2 separate regions of the Homo sapiens genome follow, and region 2 is linked to region 1. The links are contacts of gene promoters, found by promoter capture Hi-C in human tissues and cell types (Jung and others, 2019). All regions are on one chromosome and are shown on one strand. The core of a region is centred on a gene start or on the middle of the fragment in contact, and the rest is flanking DNA. Distances in the headings are between cores, read along the strand shown.

Region 1 (4,323 bases), core at 1,581-4,080:
TGAGAGTTCACGGGGCCATCTCCACTGGCTCCTTGCAGGAACACAGACGCCCACCAGGGACTCCCGGGCTCCTCTGTGGGGGCACTATGGGCTGGGAAGCACAATTTGCAACGCTCCCCGTGTGCATGGACAGCAGTGCAGACCCATCCAGGCCACCCCTCTGCATGCCTCGTCTCGTGGCTTAACCCCTCCTACCCTCTACCTCTTCCCGAAGGAATCCTAATAGAACTGACCCCATATGGATGTGTGGACATCCAACATGACGCCAAAAGGACATTCTGCCCCGTGCAGCTCACAGGGCAGCCGCCTCCGTCACTGTCCTCTTCCCGAGGCTTTGCGGATGAGGCCCCTCTGGGGTTGGACTTAGCGGGGTGCTCTGGGCCAAAAGCATTAAGGGATCAGGGCAGGAGTGGCCAAGCCTGGGCGGGGAACCCTGATCCAAAGCACTGGACCACTGCTGGCCTGGGCTGAGAAAAGCGGGGCATGGGAGACACCCCCGCCTCTCGGTGCGTGACAGGCGAGTCATCCACATTTGCGGTTCCCAGGTCCTCACCTCCAGTCTACTCCCACTGGGTTCTGTCCCTTCCTCTCAAGCAACCCTGCCCATCAAGGCACTGGCGACCTCCATCTTGCCAAGGTCACAGCCTTGAATTCACTTCTCAGCAGCATCAACAGAGAACCACATCTCCCCTACCCCCGGCTGTCCCTCTTCACTGACTCCAAACACTGGAGCACCCAGGGCTCCACCTTGGACCTCCTTTTCCGATGCTCTGGAAACACCTGCCAGCCCCCGATGCTGATGGCTCCCTGGGCCCAGGCCCATCCCTCCTGGTAACCGTGTGACCTCTCCACTGGGGCAGCAAAGGGTTCATACCTGGTAGGAACCAAGCTTGTGATGTCCCCCAGGTCTCCCCTGGTTTTCACCATCTCAGTAACCAGTACCAGGCTCCACCCGAAGAGCAGGTGTTTGATCCCTTCGGCCCCAGCCACCTCCCACCCCAGCCCAAGGCCCACTGGCTCTGCCCTGCTGCCTCATGTCCACCTGCTGCTCCAGCTCTTCCGCTACTGCGATTTAAGCCCCGCCACCTTCACCCTGAACGCCCACACCAACCTCCTCCCTGGCCTCCCACCTGCCCCTCCCATCCCCTCCCCCCACAGCAGTCAAAATGACCATGTGAGAATACAGGACCAGTCATTCCTCCTCCCCGCAGCCCAGAAGGCCCAGCCCGATCCGGGGGGACCAACCTTACAGGTTCTGCCCTCAGCCTTTCCATTTCTGAACCCGTGGAGTCCTGCAACCCCCAGCAGGCCTGCCCTATCAAGGGCTGTGAGCGCCACACCAAGGCACACAAGAGCGTCCGCCAAGCTGAGGAATAAACTCCTGCTTCTCTGTGGGGCTCTGTATTCCCATGTGGAGGAGGATGGGGCTGTAATCACCTAAAACTGACATAGGCCAGTTCAAAAGTGGCCCTAGAACCAGAGCAGGTCCCAGGTTCCTCCTGGGAACCGCCCCGGGCTCAGATGGGGGTGTCACCTACCTGTGCCGACAGCCAGCTTTGTGTCCCAGATGGACTCGGGCATCGAAGAGGCTTCTCACGGAAAACAGTTCCTTGACATTGAAGAAGTCAGAGTGCTTGAGGGGCTCATTCAAAATCTTGTCGTTGAAATCTACGGCAGGGAGGAGGAGCGACGCTGCGTCTCCCACCGGTGGCAGCAGAGACAGGCAGAGCGCAGTTCCCGCCCACCCCTGCTCCCAAGTGCCTTCTGTGACACCGAGGTGGGGAGCCGGGAGCCCAGCAGCCCCAGGAAAGACCTGGAAGCACAGGGACCTTTTCAGGAAACAGAGGGCTGGAGCCAGGTTCTGATCCCGACCTTGCTCCTGGGTAAGCCTGGTCGAACCTGGTCAACCCCGTCCCTTGGTCTTACTTGGAAGACAGAGGAGAAAAAGAGAGGGGCCCAGCGGGTTGCTCAGGTCTTTCTGGCACCTCCCCGCCTTGTGGTCTCAGGTGGCCAGCCAGAAAGTCCCCATCAGGAGTCCAGCAAGGTGGGCAGACTCCAAGCCCAGTGCCCCCAGGTCACTTGGGCCCGCCTGGGCGAGCTCGGGGCTCCGGGCCTCGGTGGTCCAGTGACACCCCCCTAGGGAGCGAAGCCTGTGCTAACCACTGGCCCGCCCGCTCCCTCTCACCCTATCCATGGTGAGGCGGTGGCCTCAGCCCGCTGTGCTACGTCAGGCAGGACCGAGCGGCGGCGAGCACGGGAGTGGGAGGAGCCCAGCGGAGCGCGCAGTTTCGACCGCGTGCAGCGCCCAGGCCCCTCTAGGGTTCGCATCCCCCGCGGCTGCCGGCCTCTCCTCGTTCCCACCCAACTCGGCTGGGCGCCCAGTGTTACCGGTGCTGTCCTCCGACTCGCGGATCATAAGGGCCGTCGCGCTTCCAAGCGTCCTGCGGCTCGGCCGAGCAGGCCGGGGGGTCGCCTTCCCGAGAAAGCCCAACCAGCGCGACGGGGCCCGGGCACCTGGGGGGAAGTAGATAGAGGTCCTGGCGCCGAGTCCCGAATGCACCACGCCCGCTCCCCACCGCATCCCCAACGGGCCCCTCCGCGTCCCTAACGGGTCCCCTCCGCGTCCCCGCGCCCTCCCCGAGTCCCCTCCGCGCTCGCCCCGGGTCCCCTCCACGTCCCCGCCGCTCCATCGGGTCCCCGCGCCCCTCCGCATCCTCCTCGCATGCTCCTCCCCAGGGTCCCGCAAGCGCGCGCTCACCCGCGCCGAGTATTCGGGGCAGCGCGGCCGAGGATGTCGCCATGGCTGGGACGCGGGGCAGAGCGAGGTCTCCCTCCAGGCCAGGCCGAGCGGCCTCCCCTTCCGTCGCCATCCGCGCGGGGCCGCAGTGCCGCCTACAGGCCCGGAGGAGCCACAGCGCTGTCCCCAGGCGGCTGGGACCTCCCTGCGGGGGCGGGGCACGCGAGGGGTCAGGGCCCGGGGTCCTGGGCTTGAGAGTCTCGGGCGGGGAGTGGAGCCACGGTCCTCGCCCTGCAGCTCGCCCCGCCCTGCTAATGGGACCGGCCAGCCCGGGAGGCCCCTGACCCTTGGGGAAGCCCGCTGGGCGATGGGGACCCTCGCCTCCCGCCAAGTGAGCTGTGAACCACGTCCTGCGCAACCTCTCGCTCTCCAAAACTGTTTGTAATATTTAAACGATATTTGGCTTAGGAGAATTTCATAAAGTTAGCCAGATCTCGGGTCTCAATTTAGACTCGGGGTGCTGGGGGGCATAGCATCCCTGGAGTACATTGGACAGCAAAAGTCCAATCGTTGCCTGCCGAGTGGACCTGCAGTGCTTAAACCCCGTCACCCGGCTGGCGGGGTCCCAGGCCCTGGGGTTTCTTTCGCCCGGGAGTCCACGCCCTGATGCTGGGGTGGCCCGGTCCCCCCGCGGGTGGCTGGGGGCCTGGGGCTGCCTCACACGACGGTCCCAGCAGGGAATCTCTCGCCGTCCCGACCTTCCCGGCCCTTGGGGAGTCGCCCGGCAGGTTCCGGACCCACCCGCAGAGGAACCCGGCCCACGCGCGGCGCCTTTAAGGCCCCTCCGCTCGCTCCCCAGTCACGTGACCTGGCCGTCGCTTGGCAACAGGACGCCGCCGAGTCCCGCTTCTCCTCCAGGCACAATGGCTGAGGAATGCCCCAGAGCGTGCGCGGAGCCTGTGGCGCCCAAGGCCACGGCCCCGCCGGAGAGGACCAGCGACTACTACCGCGTGAGCGCGGACCTGCCGGGCAGGTTCAACAACCCGGGGTGGTTCCGGGGCTACAGGTGAGGAAGCTGGGGCCCGCCTGGTCCTGGCGTCCACTGCTCGATAGCCCCGTGTGTGAGAGACCCCGCAAGACCCCCAAGGTCCTAGCTACAGAAATCAAGAAGATCGAGTGGTCATCCGGGGCCCGCGCTGTCATCGCCCGCCAGTGAGCGGCGACCGTGCTCCCTAGAGCCTCATACAAGGAAGTGGGGATAAGGGCAGTGGGGGGCAGGGCCGTGGGGGGAGAAAGCCCAGTTGTGGTCTCAGCTCCACTGATTTGTGTCGGGTGAGTCTCCTCTCCTCTCTACCCTGAAACTCCGCTGCGGGGCGTGAGCACAGCAGCACCTCCACTGTCTTGCTGTAGACTCAGCCAGCTCTGAGCTGCCACAGGGCATTGCAGGCTAAGAAGTAGTAAGAAACTCAATTCCTGTAGGCAGGTGCAAACATCTTGCCGTGCTCATCACACATTTGGTCCCTCAACAGTCCTCTAGGGCAGGGTCTGTTAGTATCCTCATTCTCGCATTGAGATGACTGGGATGT
Region 2 (7,037 bases), core at 2,724-5,223, 400 kb after region 1:
GCCCACCCTGCCGTGGGCCAAGGGCTCCCTCTTCCCTCCTGCATGGGCCCCACTGGCTCAGAGCTGAGCATCACCCTCTCCAGCTCCCTCTTTTAAATGCAAAAGTGACCCCTTGAAATGAGCCTTAAAATCCTGGCTTAGCAAGGGCAGGGAAGGGTGAGGCTGGCTCTGCACCCTGATCTTCCAACTGCTGGCTGTAGGCACAGCTCCCAGGGCCCTTGGGGCTGGAGGCCACCTGCCCTCCTTGAGTCAGGGAGTTATTTTTGGTTCTCCATCCAGACTGCTTCTGCCAAGACCTCAGGAACTGACAGGATCCAAAAAAGCCCATGGCAGAGCCTCAGTGGAATCTTGGCACATGCAGTTCAGGAAAGCGTCCCTCTCCAGTCACGAGCACTCAGGATGCACACACAAGGAGGGAAGAGGAGGGGAGAGGCAGGAGAGGGCTGGCCGGGCTTCCTGCACTGTTGGAGGCTCAGGAAATGGCCCAAACGGGCTCTCTCTCCTAGGAAGGCCTGGGCTTGGAGGGCCAGCATGCTCAGCTGGAGGGGCAGAGGCCCCCCGACGGCCCCAGACGGGCTCAGAGGGCAGAGCGCTGTGCAAGGCCGGGAGCCTGGACAAGCTGATGCCCCTGCGGATGAGACAATCTGCCTCTTGCTATTCACAAGAGGAGGCCACTTCTACGCAGCAGCATGGACGATCTCATAGAACAGGCCCGGGGAGATGCCCACTGAGGACCTCAGGCCAGAGACAGAGGGGTCTCTGGGCAACAAAGGAGACAGACCAGGAGGGCTGAGTGCCCTGAAGCAGGCAGATGGGGTTCCTGTCCTGCTGCCTGTCCTCTGAGCCTATCTCCCTTGGTCACAGCTTTTACCTCCTGCAATCCGGGAAGACTTAAGCTGGAAGAAGTCTGCAAAGCTGGGAACTTGGACAAACCGATGTCCAAAATGCAGATGAAAGAAGCTGAGAACCATGCTGCATCCCCGCCAGGCCTCGAGATCAGACCCAGGGCCTGGGCTGGGGCGGCCACTGAGGAAAGGGTCACGGCAGACCCTCTTCCTCGCATGGCAGGAAGGGCGGGCCTCCAGGAGACTCTCACCGCCTGTCATCTGGAGAACTTCCTGGGAGAAGCCCTGGCCGCCCGGGCCCCACTCAGTCAGTGCTTCTGAGCGGCTTTTTAGATTTTGGTTTATTTCCTCCCCTGTCACTCTAGTGGGTTTTCCTTCAGAATCCACTGGCAAGGGCTTAACTCTCTATCCTTGAACGCACCATGTGTGCTGGTGACAGTGGCTCACTGTCTAGCTCCACTCAGGGCCGGGGGCAGGAGAAGACAGACCCTCTCTCTGCCTGGCTGACCCTTTCTCACATCTCAGGGTCAGGGAACAAGAGGGAGGCTTCAGGTTTGTCTCCCCCAGGACAGAGTGTAGGGCATGGTGCCAGAGCCAAGCACTATGCCCTGCCATCCCGAGCTGGGACGGGGGCCTGCAACTGGACTTGCATCAACCTAGATACCCAGGCAGGCCCAGCTCCCAGCGGCTGACAGGGGACTCTGAAGCTGGAGCCAGCGGGCTTTGTTAAGACGCGTTCCAGTGAAACAAAAAGACCCGACTGACCCTGAAGCCCAGGCTCTGTCTGTGCTTATGGGTGTCTGGGGGCTTCCCAGGCTTTGGGAAAAAAAAGAAACTAAGGAAGCCTTTAGCACCAGAGTGCCAGGATGGTATATCTGGGAGGAGCCCTTCAAATCAGCTGGCCCCCTCACCCCTCATTTATAGAGAGGACCACGGAGGCCTGAAGCTGACAGGCACATGCCACGCCCCGGGAGCTCCATGGGTAGAGCAGCATCGTGCACTGACCCTCACGCTTCTGGCTTCGCTCAGCTTTGCTGCTGGGGCATCTGACTCTGCAGGCTCCCCTGGAGAGAGGGCCCCACGCCCAGCTCAGGGGACGAGGCCAGGGGCACGGGGCAGCACTGACTCTCCCCTTGCCTGGCAACAAGACTTGCTCCAGGGGAACCGGCAAACTGCCTCCTTTCCAGAGGATGCCCGAGAGGAGAGGTTCAGATTCAAGTTTCTGGCTGGGCCATTAGGAAAATCATATAATGCCATCAAAAGAGGGATCTTCAGAATTGGAAACTGAAAACTGATGGAGCCCTGGTCCTTGTTTTCTCTGTTTCTGAGTATGTTCTGGGCTTGTCAGCAACAGTGACTTGAAGAAGGTAGCAGCAAGGAGAGAACTATCAGGAAGACTTTGGGAGAGCCTCTCCTCCAGGCTTACTGCAGGAAGGGAACCCGGACCCTGTTCACTAGACCATGGAACCTGCAGTCACACTTCACACCAGCAGGAACAGCAGGCACACCAAGAAACTGCGGGGTCCGGGACAGGGGAGGAAACTGCCCACTACTGGAGGCCACGTCTCACAGAAGCCCTCACCACCCAGGACGGCCGGCAGCGGGTGCCGGCTCCACCTTGCAGAAGGCCGGGCTCCTCAGCAACCTCCCAGCAAGGGAACAGGCTGCCAGGGTGGTCCTGAGATGGGTACCTATTTGCAAGGCTAAAATGAAGCTAAATTAAGCAGCTGCAGGATATTAATTTGGTGCTTAAGTTACTGAGCTTGAATGAAAGCCTGGGAAGAGGGAGGAGGAAGGTCAGCAGCTGCTAACTCTATCTATGTGTCAATCATCTATCAATCAATCAATCAATCAATCAATCATTTATCTATCTAACTACCTATCCAGTTATCAGTCAGCTGTCATCACCTCTCTATCCATCGACCTACCTGCCTACCAGCACCTCCTCTGCTGGGCACAGTGCTGAGCTCAGGATCTGAAGGACTTCCATGAATTACCATTCCATGAATTACCCCAGAGCTCAGGGACTCCCTGCACCATTTTACAGAGGAGGAGGCAGCTGAAACTCGAGAGGGGAAATGCCTTGGGGGAGTCGCACAGCTATCGAGTGGCATTTACTACCTTACAAAACTGCCTCCTCTAACGGGGGAGCTCAGTTTGCTGTGTGTCAAGATTAGCTGGGTGCTGGCTACGGGCAGATGCCAGGGCCCCACCTGCAGACGCTCTGATTCAGCAGCTCCGCCTACGTGTCGCAGCCCTTCCAAAGAAAGAATTAAACGCAGAGGTGAAACCAGGCAGCTGCACTCCAAAGGTGGGAGAAAGAGGGCCTCTGGAGGCCTGTTAACCCTCTCTCTTTACTCCCAAATCAATGGTGTTAGCAGCCCAAGGACGGCCATGTGATCTCTTTCACAAGACCCAAGATTTTAAGCTGCAAGGTAAACTCACCCAGCTACTAAAAATAGGCCAAGCACAGATGGGAAGGCCAGCTCATCCGGGAGGGGTGGTGCCCCCTCAGAAAGGCCCTTGGCTTCTCACTATTTGCAACTTTTTACTCCAAATCCTCACTTTGCTCCCTTGATTCCTTGATTGGAAAATGTGGAGGTTTTCTCTGGGTTTCTCCATGATGTGCCCTGTCTATTCCAGGGAGGGAAGACACTGCTCATGGGGAAATACATAACAACAACAAAAAGACCCCACCACTGGATTCTTCGGAGGCCGAGGGAGACCCCATAAGTGGGAGTGTTTGGAGGTCCTGGAGAGAGGGGCAATGGTGAGGTCACTCAAGGTCACGATGGGTAGCAAGCCGAAGACAGTACCCAAGGGCAATAGTTATATAGCCCCATGATCGTTAATACAGCCCTATCATCATTAACATTCACACCAACTCCTAGAAAGTCAAACACTCACACCAACTCCTAGAAAGTCAAATTGGGAAGCCATGGTAGAGGCCATCTGGCCCAGACCCCCCTCCTGGGACTGTCTGAGATCACCCAGCCACTGTCATACCAGGGCTGGGCACCATGGAGCACAGAGCTGAAAGAATGCAGTTAGCAGCCCCCGTGAGACACAGCCAGCATGCACACATCAAAATGGATTAGTTCTCTGACTCCAAGCATTTCTTATTGTCTCTGTTTCGGGACTGGGGAATTTAAAGCTTTGTGCGTTCACTGAGGACACCTAGAAGAGCGTTTAAAAATCACCTAAATTGGGAACCTGGGAAACCAAGGGTTTGGCTGACTCTTTTCTTTCCCCTTGAATATTCTCTCTCTTCACCTGACTAACATTAGAGGTTTTTTTTTAAAGTGTTCTTTTTGGATGTTTTAGGTTTATAGTAAGGCACTTGGAGTGTGTGTGTGTGGAAGGGAGAGTAGAAATAAAAAGGTAATCCAGTTAGAACATCAGAGAAAGCCTGAGATAAACTTCATAAGGCAAAATCACCCTAAAATTACCCTAAGTTACCCTAAAAAGTAGGTAGTATGAAAACAACAACCTTTGTGTTATTAAACAAAAAACAAAAAACAAAAACAGCTTGGTGAGGACGGATGGCTAATATTTCTTAAGAAAAATTAAAAGTGGAATTGGGATTTGAAATGTGCTATTTAAAAGCAGACTCAGACACTAATGTGTTAATATTTCTCCTAGTAATTAACTGGAAAGTTGATAAGGTGAATGGGTAATCAATCAGAAATAAGAATCCAAATGGGTCACCCCACACTGGGGGTCTTTCTTAGGAAACACACCCGAGGAAGGGGTTCATTTGCTCAGAGGCTCCTCCCCTTCCAGGCTGTGAGCAGGGGCTCCCTCCCGTGCTGTGAATGGCAGCTCTACTGAGATGTGATTGAATTTTGTTCCCTTTTTTATTCAAACTATGCATGATTCAATATTTCAGGAGCTCCACCAGCCCCCGTTCTCAATCCGGAGGAATCTGAGATGTTATTGCCAGCCCTATTAAACTGGTGTCTTCAATGCACACACACATACGATTCACACACACACACACAATCTGCCAGATGGTATGCTATTTTTTTCCAGATGTGCGACTCAGCGGGGTCTGTGGCCTCTGCACAAGACCCGGCTCTGAACAATGCCCTAGGATGGGTGTGGCCTACGCTCCTCCTTTGCTGTCTCTCAAGGTAGACCTGCCCAGGAGCCCTAATCCAGCCATCACCTCGCGAAGCCAGGCGGGCGCTGTCCACTTCAGCACCACTCCCTAAGCCTGTGCGTGTGCCGGAGGTGGGCAGTGCAGCGCCACGTCCCGCAGGGTACTGGGCCTACCTAGTTTTTGCATGCATGCACGGAGCCTTTCTTCAAGATTGGACACTCTGCTCTGAAGTTCATCGTAGTCATAGGCGCCAATTTCCTCTTGCAGCTCGTTAAGCACTGACGTCAGATTCTGGACCTCCTCTTTAAACTGCAATACCAATTTGGCATCGGCCTTGTACTCTTCCAACACAGGTATCAAAGGCCTAAGTTCATCCATTTTCGCTTTTATCGCCTGCAAGGTTAAAATAAGCTGGTTCAGTGCGATGCATGCAAGAACTCTCACACCCTGCCTTGGCCTGGCTTCTCCCTAGGTGAGGGAAAGTGTGTATATTCCCGCTTTATTTACAGGCTTATTTGTTCTGGTCCAAATGAGTTAGAAGAGCATATTAAACAGTCCTCAGAACACCAGCATATTTGGGAAAGGTCTTTATTGTCAGTTTAGAATGCAACATCTTAAGGTTACATGCTTTGAGTCACATACACGAAGTTTTTTTTTTCTTTCTTTTTCAAAAAATGCATTGACAAGGGTTCAAACTATTCATGAAATGCAGCTACAGTCGCATGCAAAGGAGGATCCTGGTTGTATTCAAGGTTCCTTAGTGAAATGGTGCTAAGTATTGGAAAATAATAGTAAAAATGCATGGTGCAAAAAGCTCTCTGGCTCTCTTTCATGGTTACATGGGAGTGGACTGCTTCTTCAGTCACTGCAGCATTGAAAAAACTCTTTTAAGTTAGCCCTGCAAGTAAGAAAATGAAATACCGTTGAAGAACTAGCTCACTAGCCTGCCTGAAACAGACAGCCATCAGGAAACACATATTTGCATGGTCAGTTAGAAAAATCCCACTGTAATGCTCGAGTTAGTCAAAACAAACTGCTTTAAGAGTTATTGAGATTCCCTCGTCACAATTTCTGTTGGAATTTTTTTAATGCGGTTTAGCACAGTATAGGCAAGCGCTTGCTTTTCTTCCCCCAGAGCCACAGCACCCCAAAATTGGAAACTCGGAGAGATGCCTGTGTCAACAACGTTTGCCAAGATGAGCTACCTCCCAGTTGCTGAAGACACCCCCCTCGTTAGAGGAGTCTGCTGGCCGCAGAGAAGGGAGTGCTGGCTCAGAGACATAAATGCTTTTTTGGTTAGACAGGTCAACATCTCTCCCTCCAGAGTAATTCATGATGACCAGCCAGATGCGAGGACAAAAATGTCCAACTGCCTCTGATGAGCACAATCGGCTCATTTCACCTCAACAGGATTGGGCCTGCTATTATTTTATTTATAATATAGATTTATAATTTCATTAGCTTGCCATTTCATCTATTTAATGTATCATTTTTAAAAGAGAATTAGTTCTTGCCTCATGCAGGGAGCACATCGAAGAAAAACATTAGCATAAAAAGGACGGGAAGACAGAGACAGAGTACACCAGCAGTTTCTAGTCGGGCGAGGCTGTGTAATTTGACCTGTTCATTTACATCTGGGCTGGATTTCTAATTAAAATGCATGTATACCTTCATTAAGGCGGCATATAACGTTTCAGTCGAATCGCACTGAGATGGAGTCAACTGTGGGCATCTCTCTACCTGGCTGCACATCTGTATCTATGATTTTAGGTCAAACAAACACCAGTTTTAATGTCCAGAGTTACCCGGAGAAGCAGAACACTTCCCACGAGGTGGAAAGGAGGCTGGCATCTCTCTCTTTTTTCCCTGCAAGTCTATGGTATGCTTTGTCATGGCTAGATTAGGTCAGATGTGAAAACTGCCCTGAGAGATTCCTGCTCCAGAATGGCCCTCATCAATTCAGCTAATCTTTGGCTAATGTGATTTACCTGCAGCAGCTGCAGAATGACAAGGGCCAATAACGATGTCCCTTCCCAGCTAATATTCGACTTGGCTCGGGCAGCGCAGGATCTCAGACCCCTGGCTTCCAA

Evidence for each region. The method cuts DNA at HindIII sites, captures the fragments that hold promoters and counts their contacts. A contact is called where the count stands out against the background at its distance.
Region 2: a fragment that was not itself captured here is called in contact with the fragment with the promoter of MRPS2 in region 1 in 1 of the 25 tissues and cell types used here (H1 embryonic stem cells).

What each region holds. Positions count from the first base shown.
Region 1 is chr9:135,499,189-135,503,511 of GRCh38, reverse strand. It overlaps MRPS2 (mitochondrial ribosomal protein S2), which reads right to left and starts at 2,830. Exons shown (of 4, transcript NM_016034.5): 1 at 2,759-2,830; 2 at 2,389-2,514; 3 at 1,539-1,668. The coding sequence starts at 2,801. PIERCE1 (piercer of microtubule wall 1) reads left to right here and starts at 3,643. Exons shown (of 3, transcript NM_001048265.2): 1 at 3,643-3,803. The coding sequence starts at 3,661. It overlaps LOC101928525 (a long non-coding RNA gene), which reads left to right. Exons shown (of 3, transcript NR_121579.1): 3 at 1-239. RefSeq lists an enhancer at 1,981-2,605 and silencers at 2,561-2,720, 2,931-3,100, 3,371-3,540. The HindIII fragment of the contact is 18,925 bases long and covers 1-4,323 here.
Region 2 is chr9:135,096,589-135,103,625 of GRCh38, reverse strand. OLFM1 (olfactomedin 1) reads right to left here. Exons shown (of 6, transcript NM_001282611.2): 4 at 5,121-5,340. Among named protein-coding and RNA genes, the nearest start is that of OLFM1, 12 kb to the right of the region's middle. RefSeq lists an enhancer at 4,996-5,497. The HindIII fragment of the contact is 4,387 bases long and covers 1,780-6,166 here.